Linked DNA regions of Homo sapiens: regions 1, 3 and 4 are each linked to region 2. Evidence: promoter capture Hi-C in 16 types of primary human blood cells and fetal thymus (Javierre and others, 2016). All regions are on one chromosome and are shown on one strand. Each heading gives the region's core, a stretch centred on a gene start or on the middle of the fragment in contact. The rest is flanking DNA. Distances are from core to core; before and after follow the strand shown.

Region 1 (2,868 bases), core at 224-2,723, 430 kb after region 2:
TAGGGGAAATACAAGATTATGTTCCCGCAAGCCTATGATCACAACGTTTTCATCACTCAATCAATGCATAACCTTGTATTATGTTTTTCTGTTTCAAACACTGTATTTAAAATATAATACTGATTCATTAACATTGAACTCAATCACCAACGGCACTATAATTCAGGCCTGGATAAAGCTTATCTGGCCAGGCACATTGTAATCCCAGCACTTTGGGAGGCCGAGGCGGGCAGATCACCAGGTCAGGAGATCAAGACCATCCTGGCTAACACGGTGAAACCCCGTCTCTACTAAAAATACAAAAAAAAAAAAAAATTAGCTGGGTGTGGTGGCAGATGCCTATAGTCCCAACTACTAGGGAGGCTGAGGCAGGAGAATGGTGTGAACCCAGGAGGTGGAACTTGCAGTGAGCCGAGATGGCACCACTGCACTCCAGCTTGGGTGACAGAGTGAAACTCCGTCTCAAAAAAAAAAGCTTATCTAACGTATGTCTTTTATGTCTTTTCTCCATAAGACACATTGCAGCCTTCCTGTTCTTTAGGAAATCAAACAGAACTTCAGCAGTATGCAGTGAGGCCATTTTAAACAGTGAAATCACCAACATAAAGCACAAATATTTGAAAACATGGCCTTAAATAGACCACAAAAAGGAAACTTGTTAACAGTAGAAGAACTGAAACAAGAAGGCACAGCATCACCCTGTTTGACCCCAGCTGGGAACACATCTATCAGATGACTCAAATGTTTTCTTGCTCTGTGCATGTCTGCAAATGACCATGAAAGCCACCTATACTGATTTTGGGGTTACAAAATCTGTCATATGAGGACCTAATGCCTAGAGTCATTGATGCCATGTTGTGTTTAAGAGGAGGCAATGAAGAAAATTGCAAAGATGCCAAGCTTGTATTCCGATATCAATGAGTTGTTTCATGTAATTTGGTACCAACTAGCTCCAGGCTTCATGTTAGATGAGATAATTAAATGTTCATTTATGGCTAAAGCAACTGCTGGTTGTGGTTTCTGTGACTTGCAACCCAAAGATATTCCTAATCAATGCCATTGGCTGACATCATCATGTTATTAGTAGAGTTGGGCTTGAATGTAAATCTATTTGGCTCCAAAGTCCCTCTTTCTTTTTTCCTTAATTTTTTATTATTTGAGAAAGGGTCTCACTCTGTTGCCCAGGCTGGAGTGCAGTGGCACAATCTTGGCTTACTGCAAATTCCATCCCCTGTCTCAAGAAACCCTCCCATCTCACCTTCCTGAGTAGCTGGGACTACAGGTACCCTTTTTTTTTTTTTAAGTAGAAACAAAATTTCACCATGTTTTCTAGGTTGGACTCAAACTCCTGAGCTCAAGCAATCCGCCCGCCTAGCTTCTCAAAGTGCTGAGATTATAGGCATGAGCCACCCCACTCAGCCACCCCAAAGTCCCTCTTTCTATTATATTGTGCTACCTTCCTTCCTCTTTAAACAGTCAGTGATCAATTCCCTTAAAATACTTTTAAGTTTTTTAAGGGGAGAGTCCAGGTCCTGTGTAATACCACCTTGTTTCTATAAGACCATTAAGATCATTTTTAATTTTTCTCTGGTCTTCCGGACTACTAAGCATATTACCTTATTTAGTACCATTATCAAATTTAGTTAATGCCATTTTTACTTTTCTCCACTTATTCATAATGATAGAGAACAGAATTGTCTCCAAGTCAACCTCAAAGAAATACCATTTGAGTTTGAACTTCCCTTCTCCCCATCCTTGCACCCCCAGCATGCCTCCCTCTGAGCTGTCTGTGCATCTGGCTAGCCCTAATACTAGTGATTCTTGCCACCCACTCTGCTGCAGCTGGCAAGGACCAGAGGGCCTGGATGCTCTCTTTTTGCTTCACGAACCTCTAAAGAGTACTCAGGCTGGAAACTGCTCCATCTATTCTACTAGTTGGCTTAATTTTACCAATCACCTAAAAAATCACATAGCAAGTTAAGAAGTTTTGCTGCTTATACAACCTGAATTCCTACAGTAAAAAGAATAAGGCTAGTACTAACTGCAGTAAGCTTTTAATATCCCATACAATATATCATCCTTCCTTAGGAAAGACTTGACTGCTAAGCAACATGATTATGATGTTATCACTTTCAGAAAAATTGGGGTAGAGAAGGCCCTCCAAAATGGTGTTTCATTCCAAATCAATAGGTTTCTTGATCCCAAACCACAGAAATGGACCTTGATAAACTTAAGCAAAAAAAGAAGTTCAGTAATAAGTCCTGGATAGCTCACAGAATAAAATATAGTATTGAACACTCAGAAGGATGGGAAGGGAACAGCTTTGGGAATCTTGGTAACTGGGACTAATCCATAGGCCCTGCTGGTCACTACCATTGGAATGACACAAAGCCACAAAGATCATTCATTCTAAGCAGATCACATGGAATAGGGAAAGAAGAGTTTCCCCAAGAAAAGTGGGACTCTTTTCAAAAGATAGAGGGAGGAATACTCAGTGCACTAGTGTGCGTGAGTGTGCACGTATGTGTGTTGTGAATGAAGAGAGGAAAAATCCATTGACTGAAACTCTTTATGTTGCAGGCCAAAAGGAATCACAGGAGCAGAATTTGCATCTAAATGAAGGCAACAAGGAGACCATAGAAAGGTGTTACTTCCCAGACTTTACCAGCTACTAGCTGTCATGAAACATCTAAAAAACTGTTTTGAAAGTTAGGAAGTTTTGTCATTTGGAGAGTGCTAGATGTCCTGGAGAATGGGAGATGAGGTTACATAAAACTGAAATGTGCCTAGAATACTGACTACAATCAGCTTGAAATTTCCCCAAGGAAGCCCATGAGCTGTAAGCGTCTACAGATCTGGTACTGACAT
Region 2 (2,700 bases), core at 100-2,599:
GCAGTAATCCCAAGAACCACAGGCATGAATAAAAGCCCGAACTTTTCGTTTTTGGTGACAGAAATTTCTCTTACAAGCTCCAGGAGATGATGAGGAAGACAGTGTTCTCTGTTTTCTGATTTTGCTTAATTTTTTAAAAATGAGCCTCTCCCTTGACTTGGTGACACAGCTGTGATCTTATCTGGCCGGCAGGGGGATGCTCCAGGTAGGACAAAGAGTGCTTTGTTTTGTTCTTACAGCAGCCACGCATAACTGGGCTCCAAAAACGCAATACTCCTCAAAGGGAGAGTGAGAGAGAGGGAGAGAGGGAGAAGGGTGTGTGAGAGAGAGAGCGGAGGGAGAGAGAGAGAGGAGGCAGAGTGAGAGGTGTGTAGTGGTGTGTGTGTGTGTGAGAGAGAGAGAGAGAGAGAGAGAGAGAGAGAGAGAGAGAGAGAGAGAGAGAGAGAGAGAGAGAGAGAGAGAGAGACGGAGAGAGAGATTGTCCCTGTAGGAGATCTACAGATAAGAAAACTCCGGGGCGGGCGCGGTGGCTCATGCCTGTAATCCCAGCATTTTGGGAGGCGGAGGCGGGCGAATCACGAGGTCAGGAGATCGAGACCATTGTGGCGAACACAGCGAAACCCCGTCTCTACTAAAAATTCAAAAAAATTAGCCGAGCGTGATACGGCACGCCAGCAGTCCCAGCTACTCGGGAAGTTGAGGCAGGAGAATTGCTTGAACCCGGGAGACAGAGGTTGCAGTGAGTCGAGATCGCGCCTCTGCACTCCAGCCTGGCGACAAAATGAGACTCCGCCTCAAAAGAAAGAAAGAAGGAACGAAAGAAAGAGAGAGAGAGAGAAAAAAAAGAAAAGAAAACTCCATGTGTTCCCTGCCTGTCCTGATTCTCCCCCCAGCTCTGAGCTCTTAGGGTTGCTTCCTTTCGGGAAAAGGTTTGGAAGAACTGGTGTCTAATACCGTCATCCTCTCCCTCTCCCCGCAAGGATCCTAGCGCTGTTTCCGAGGGCTGCAGGGACTGTGAGCCCAGGACCGGCCAGCAGAGCGGGTGCGACTCAGCGAGCCCACCCCGGCCGGTCGCCGCTCCGGGGTCCCGACCTCCAGCGCGGCGACCGTGCCCTTCCTCCCACTCCCGCCTCGCCCCCGGGGCCCCTCCTCACTCAGGCGCGGCGCGGAGCTGCTCGCGGGAACTGGGGTCCCTGGGCGCGTTCCACCGCGCACCAACGCGACCCAAGCGCTCCAAACCCGACTGCTTCTCGCCGACAGCACTGCGAGCCTCCGACCAGCCGCTGTCCCCCTGGCTGCGGGCCGAGCAGCTCTGGCAGGCGGCGGGCGGGTGGGCTGCGCGCGGGCTGTGTCCTGGGTCCGCCTAGCGCGGCCTTGTGGCCCCGACCCTCTCCTCCCCTGGTGATGCTGGAGGAGGTACCGGGGAGGAGCGTGTGTGGCCCCGGCCTCTCACTAGCAGCGGCGGCTCCCGACGCTAGCCTGCTCGAGCGCACCCAGCACCCTCCCCAAGACCATGGCCCGCACCTGGACCCGCGGTTAACTTAGCCCGCCGCGGAGAGAGCCAGGCAATGCCTGGGTGGTGTCGTGCTCACCAGCTCCTTTCCGCAGACCTGATGCCGATCAGATTTACTCCCTGCTGAATTCACCCCCCAGTCAGGCCGGTTTTCCTTGTTTCACCGTGTTCTCTGAATACACTGAATTACTCCGAGCATCTATAGTTGGCAATGCCCTGCGCATTTTCCGCACTCCGATACACTTTACACTGAACACCAATTCGGAAGTTGTGTGGACCGTGCTCCAGATTGGAAGGCCTGCCACTGTGCTGGTGTCATTTCTCCCTGGAAATGACAATGAAGGACAATCAGGAATAGCACTTAGGTCTGAGGAGAAATGGAGCTAGAAGGAGCCGTTTCATAGCTCAGTGTAACACAGAGTTATTTGGGGTTTAACTGAAACGCCTTCCTTCATCTTCCAATGTTTTCTCTTCAATCCACTTTCTAATAAATTAAAAACACACTCATTTAAAACTTCAGCTAGAAACTTAGGGAAAGTAGTTTGAAATTTATGTGTGGTGTTATTAAAATTTTATATTTTTAAATCGTGTTTTGGTTTTTGGTGAGGTGCCAGAACTGGAGATGAAATTTTGCTTATTTTGATTTTGAGTATTCTGCAGTAAGATGGCCTGAATTTTAGCTTGTTTCTCCCACTTATGAGTGGTGTGACCTTGGGGAAGTTCATCATCTCTGCTTCTCGGTCTCCTCATCCATAAAATCAAGAAAATCAAAATCAGTCAGTCAGAGGCAGTTTGTGAGCACGAAATGCAAATACATGTGAAATGCTTGGGACAGAGCTTGGCCTATGGGAAACATTCATTCAATATGTGTTATCTAATATTGATAGCTTAATGAAGCAGTGACTCATTTAAACCTAACAATAGATTTTATTTTTAATTTAAATGGAACTCTATCCGCCTAATGACATTGTCTTGTACTTCCTGGACTAACCCCCTGTAAAACAAATGGCCCACAAATATCAATCTAAAAGGATACATTATGCCCTACCAAAGACATCTCTAACGTCTTCTTTTGACCTTAAGACAAAGGTGAAGACAAAGTTGAAGTTGAAGACCTAATCCCACACTAAAAAGGTGGTAAGCTTTGAGAACAGCTCCTGAAAACAAGTATGCAACATTTTATTCAC
Region 3 (2,821 bases), core at 287-2,786, 260 kb after region 2:
GTCAGTATCTTCAATGTTTCCTCCTGTTATAATCAGATTCTCCAGAGATGCCTGTTCAGACTTGACTTGGGTCGGCTGTGTCCCCACCCAAATCTCATCTTAAATTGTAGCTCCCATAATTCCCACGTGTTGTGGGAGGGACCCAGTGGGAGATAATTGAATGATGGAGCCAGTTTTACCCATTCTGTTCTCATGGTAGTAAATAAGTCTCAAAAGATTTGGTGGTTTTACAAGGGGAAACCCCTTTCATATCGTTTTCACTCCCTTTCTTGCCCGCTGCCATGTAAGAAGTCCCTTTACTCCTCCTTTGTCTTCCACCATGATTGTGAGGCTTCCCCAGCCATGTGGAACTGTGGGCCCATTAAACCTTTTTTTAAAATAAATTACCCAGTCTTAGGTATGTGTTTATCAGCAGCATGAGAATGGACTCATACAAGACTCTTGCCTTAAAAATGTAAGACTTGCTGCCATTGTTATATGTCAACTTTCACTAAACCTTTTGTTTTCAGGATGGGAAAACCTCTCCCAACTGATTCTGCTGTCTCTCAGTCCCAATATCCCATCTTTTTCCACATCTCCATATAATCTATTAGTAGGATGAAGGAAAGGACATTTGCTTGGCTACTTGGGATTAGAGAGGTACCTGGGGGACCAGATGCTTCCTAAATTGAACTTGAACCAACCAAATCTACTATTCAGTCCCATATTCATCCAAATTCTTAAGGTACCTGGTGCTGCAAAGTCTTAAGTCTCTTGGGGGATTCTGCAGTGTAAAGTAGGTTGCTTCTTGTTTTTCCCCACCACTGGCTTAATATTTAACTTTCTCAGGTCTTCTAAGTCAGTTCACACCACCCCACCTGCTTTCCAAAGGTGTGTTGCTGTTATCTCCTCTCTTGTTCCCAATCTTTGGAATTTCATGTCTGTGACCTCCAGTGATCCCTCCCTCCTGGCATTCACACCTTTTGAAATGCCCTCCTCTCGATTGTGGCCAGGGCCTGTGACTTGGTTCTAACCTGTGAAATATGGCAAAAGTTATGGGTTGTCACTCTCCTAATTATCTTACATTAAACAAGACTCTCTCTTAAAAGCAGACTGGAGTTAGAGACTGTCCTTGCAGGCTTAATGTTGTAAGTGGCCAAGTTGGAAAAGCCCATGTGGTGAAAAAAATAGGGGTGGCCTCTAGGGTCTGAGGATGAACTCTAGCCAATAGTCAGCAAAAAGCCACCATTCTCATTCCCACAACCACAAGGGGACAAATTCTGCCAACAACCTGAATGAGTCAGAAGTGAATTCTTCCCCACCTGCACCTCCAGATGACATGACAGTCCATCCAGTACCTTGATGACAGCCTTGTGTAACCCTGAGCAAAGTACAAGCTTAGCTGTGCATGGAATCCACCCATGACCACTTTGAGATAATAAATGTGTGTTGCTTTAAGCTGCTGAGTTTGCAGCAATTTTATATGCAGCAATAAAAAACTATCATAACAGAAATGGAATAAACTATTATAATAGAAAACACAGCAATAGAAAATTATTACAATGCTATTCACTTTTTCATTATTTTATTGTTGTTTTAGTAGCATTTTGAGGTGAATGTATGCATAATCAGTGAATTAGACAAGCATGCACATACATGATATCTGATCAAACATTTTTTTGTCTCTCATCATCCTCATAAAATTTATTCAGTGGGAGAAGCTTTTTCTTCCATCAGATACATTCCAGTTGTATGCCAACATACTCAGGTAAGAGCAACATTTTGGTCATTTTAAATAGTTTGGTAATTATGACTCCCAGTCGCCTACAATAAGAAGAAACTACAATAATTTAGTACTAAATTTTTCTTCCCTCTCCAACTGAGTCTTGTGTTGAGTTGCCTACTTGCGCTAGCACATCTTCCCTTGCTGGTTGACATTTTTGCTAAGATTTCTCCCTCTCCTTCCACCCCACCTTGGACACGGAGGTTTCTGGCCTCCCTTTCCCCAAGGTCCCCAAAAAAAGAAATCTGTCTTATGAGATAGGGCTGCCTTCACATGGTGTCAGGGTTCTCTGGATAGTAATTGTGTGTAATAAGAGAGGGAGCATTCAAGAACTCCCATAGAAATTCTCATAGCCCTGACTTCTCATCTTTAGCTTGTGTAGATTTTTTTGTATTCCAGGTGGTCATTTGTGACTCCTTCCTCATCCCACAATCTGGCTTCACCTCCCACTTCTTGATGCTGGGTTCCCTCCACCTCTTTGGACAACCCTATCAGAGAGGACCTAAAAGAGCCCCATGCTGACCTTCACTCTTGCATGTCTCACTATGGTTCATGGGAAACACACACATCCATTGCCCTGACAAACACTAGACATACAGGCTATTCTCAACACAGAACTCATTCAGGGCTCTACTACCGGAGCTGTGGCCACAATTCTAGGCAAGAATCAGACTTCCATCAGCCATGCATCCTAATTGTTGTGGTTCTGAGAAATCTGAGCTATCTGAGCTATCTGAGAAATCTTCTCTCACTAAATTTGAGGTCAAGGAGCAGACATTCCTCCTTCTCTCACTTTTGTGGGTAGGTAGAGTGAGAAGGCTCATAGAGCAGTTTTCTGCAAAGAAGTCTTTCTCATAAAATTCTGTTGACTCTCATACATATTTGTGGGGTATAGAACCATCTAACTGATCCTCAGTCATTTCCTTTGAACCTCTCACTTTCATATTTCATGTGTGCTGCACCTTGGTGCCTTGTGGAAGTCTAACTTTGAATTTCTCTCAGGTATGCTTATTTAATCTACCACCACTAACTAGAAGTTCCCCCAGCTGTCTTTATTTG
Region 4 (2,789 bases), core at 143-2,642, 310 kb after region 2:
GGTCCAATGTCTAAAGTTTTAAGATGAGAGATGCCATCTTCTCAGTTCAGTGCCACCCCTTTCCTATTGTCTATATTAAATTACAAGTGTTTAAAGTAATTCACTGACATCCTAGTAAGAATGTGTTTATAAAATGGAATTAATAATCTACTAATCACTAGAGCAAGAAAGTGGCCATGGAATTGGGTGGAAACAGTTGAAATGACCAACTAGTGTGGAGTTTAAGGTGGTGAGGGCTTGAAGCTGAGATGGAAGCTCTGTTATCCACCTTTGGCTCATTGTGTCACTGCAGCCCAACAACTTCCTAGGGCCAAGGTATGGCCCTCAGAACCAAAGGAAACCCTACATTGTCTCATTAGACCAAAAACACTTTAGCAGACACTAGTAGGTGAGGCAACCGGTAGACATCAATGATTCCATGAGCACATTGATTTTGGAGAAAATCTGAATCCAAACAGATGAATGCATTTAATAGTCTTTTAATTCCGTGTTTAATAGAAGGAAGTCATAGTACGTCCAATATTCAGATTGTTTCATAAATAAGGTGTGTTTTTGAAACTGATGACTCACCAAAAAGCAGTTTACTCACCGCTTCTAATTTCCTGCTAAGAATCTGTTAGTGCACGCAACACTAAATTCCTCAGTACTTCCTGGTGAGTTTGAGGAGCTCTCTGGTCCTTGCAAAGGACACAGTGCAAAAGGAAGCAGCATGGGTTTATGCACTGTGGCAGCATTCGGACATCTTATTACCTTAAGAGCTCAGGACAAAGCCAACCTTCTGAGTGCAGAGCTGTGGAGCTTTGTTGCCCCTCTAGTTTGATTGTAATGTTTCACAGGCATGAACAAGGTGTTCACTTGAGCATAAGAAGCCAGGTAAACAAATTTATTTTGGTTCATCTGGTCAACTTTACATTCCACAAATGCTGGGGGGAAAAAAAAGAAGAAGAAGAAAGGCCTGGGGCTGAGGAAGAGCTTCAAGCCTTCTAACTTCATCTGTTGGTGTTGGTTTAGTGAAGAGTCTGGTTGCTTGGTTTCCAAGCAAAAGAGCAGGGTCCCACAAATAAACAGCAATAAGCCTGAGTCCTGGGAGAAAGAAAATGCAAACAGAATCATGTTATTGAAACTAGTTATCTAAATTCATATGTCAACAAACTGTCCCTGAGTGAGTACTCGGTGTGAAACAATATCTAAATTAGACAGATCAGCAGGTGAACCAGAAAAGGACAGGAACCCAATTACAGAAGGACCCTGATGCCCATGTCCATACATCAGAAGTGCTGGACATTCTTTGAGTTTGGTCATAAAGAAGTTTTACCCCAGGGGCTGCAAACACAAACGGCAGACTTGAGTGATGTGATGATGCAGGAGTGTGAAAGACCCTGGACTGTTTCAGGTGGTTTTATTCCATAGTTGCAAAATGTTTGAAAGCACTATATATATGTATATGTATATATTGCAAGTATAATTTTTTTAACTGAAAGGAGGAGTAAAAAAGAGAAGAGTTGAGTATAAACTGTAAATTTCAGCGAGACGATTCTTCTGACTACTATGATAAAAGTCTTATCAAAGCTGATACAGGCTCTTCATACTCGGAACAAGGGCTTAAGATAAGGAGAGGTGGGTTTGAAATTATGAAGCTACCTAAGGACAAGCATTGGACACTGTGACTTATGAGAAATTGCTTTTATCAGAGGGGTAGGGTAGCATTGTGTTATAATTGAGACCTGGACAGCTAATTAGAGGAAGAGAAGAACTACCAAGCACTTAGTATCAGCCAACATTTTGTTGTTGTTGTTGAGACAGGGTCTCACTCTGTCGCCCAGGCTGGAATGCAGTGGCATTATCTCATCTCGCTGCAACCTCTGCTTCCCGGGCTCAAGCGATTCTCCAGCCTCAGTCTCCCAAGCAGTTTGGACCACAGGCGTGAGCCACCAATGTTAATTTTTGTATTTTTTGTAGAGGCGGGGTTTTGCCATGTTGTCCAGGCTGGTATTGAACTCCTGAGCTCAAAGCGATCCTCCTGCTTCAGCCTCCCAAAGTGTTGTAATTACAGGTGTAAGTCACAGTTCCTGGCTTAGCAAACTTTTTTTTAAATTTTTTGTTTTTAATTTGTATGGGCACATAGTAGGTATAAGTTTTTATGGGGTACATGAGATATTTTGATACAGGCATACAATGTGTAATCATCACCTCAAACCTTTGCGGTTATGCAGCATCATTTCTTTGTGTTACAAACATTCCAATTATACACTTTAAGGTATTTTTAAATGTTTAGTAAATTGTTATTGAATATAGTCACCCCATTGTGCTATCAAACACTAGATCTTATTTATTCTACCTAATGATATTTTTGTACCCATTAACCATCCCCACTCCCCCACTGCCCACTACTCTTCCCAGCCTCTGGAAATCATCATTCTTTTCTCTACTTCCATCAGTTTAATTGTTTTAGTTTTAGCTCCCACAAATCAGTGAGAACATGTGAAGTTTGTCTTTCTTTACCTGGCATATTTCACTAAATGTCCTCCAGCTCCATCCACGTTGTTGCAAATGACAAGATCTCATTCTTTTTTTTGTTGTTGGTTTCTTTCTTTTTTTTTTTTTGTGGTGGATCAGCCAACATTTACGGAGTACTTCCTATGTGCCAAGTACTGTTGTGATCATTTTTCATGTGTTTTTATACGTTCTGCAACCCTATTTTATAGACAATGGAGTGAAGGCATCGAGCAGTTAAGTGAATGGTGAGCCAGAAAATCAACACAACCTGACTTCAAAGTCTGTTCTGTCAC

What was found. The method cuts DNA at HindIII sites, captures the fragments that hold promoters and counts their contacts. A CHiCAGO score of 5 or more calls a contact.
Region 1: a fragment that was not itself captured here is called in contact with the fragment with the promoter of PLA2G7 in region 2 in 1 of 17 cell types (M0 macrophages); the score reaches 5.0 in M0 macrophages.
Region 3: a contact is called between a fragment that was not itself captured here and the fragment with the promoter of PLA2G7 in region 2, in 1 of 17 cell types (M2 macrophages). The highest score is 5.3, in M2 macrophages.
Region 4: a fragment that was not itself captured here is called in contact with the fragment with the promoter of PLA2G7 in region 2 in 1 of 17 cell types (M2 macrophages); the score reaches 5.2 in M2 macrophages.

What each region holds. Positions count from the first base shown.
Region 1 is chr6:47,165,403-47,168,270 of GRCh38, forward strand. No RefSeq gene overlaps it. Among named protein-coding and RNA genes, the nearest start is that of ADGRF1, 120 kb to the left of the region's middle. The HindIII fragment of the contact is 1,151 bases long and covers 899-2,049 here.
Region 2 is chr6:46,734,026-46,736,725 of GRCh38, forward strand. It overlaps PLA2G7 (phospholipase A2 group VII), which reads right to left and starts at 1,350. Exons shown (of 12, transcript NM_005084.4): 1 at 1,155-1,350. The HindIII fragment of the contact is 14,792 bases long and covers 1-2,653 here.
Region 3 is chr6:46,996,161-46,998,981 of GRCh38, forward strand. ADGRF1 (adhesion G protein-coupled receptor F1) reads right to left here. Exons shown (of 15, transcript NM_153840.4): 15 at 1,548-2,821. Among named protein-coding and RNA genes, the nearest start is that of ADGRF1, 45 kb to the right of the region's middle. The HindIII fragment of the contact is 324 bases long and covers 1,375-1,698 here.
Region 4 is chr6:47,043,982-47,046,770 of GRCh38, forward strand. No RefSeq gene overlaps it. Among named protein-coding and RNA genes, the nearest start is that of ADGRF1, 3.0 kb to the left of the region's middle. RefSeq lists an enhancer at 264-1,463. The HindIII fragment of the contact is 3,188 bases long and covers 1-2,789 here.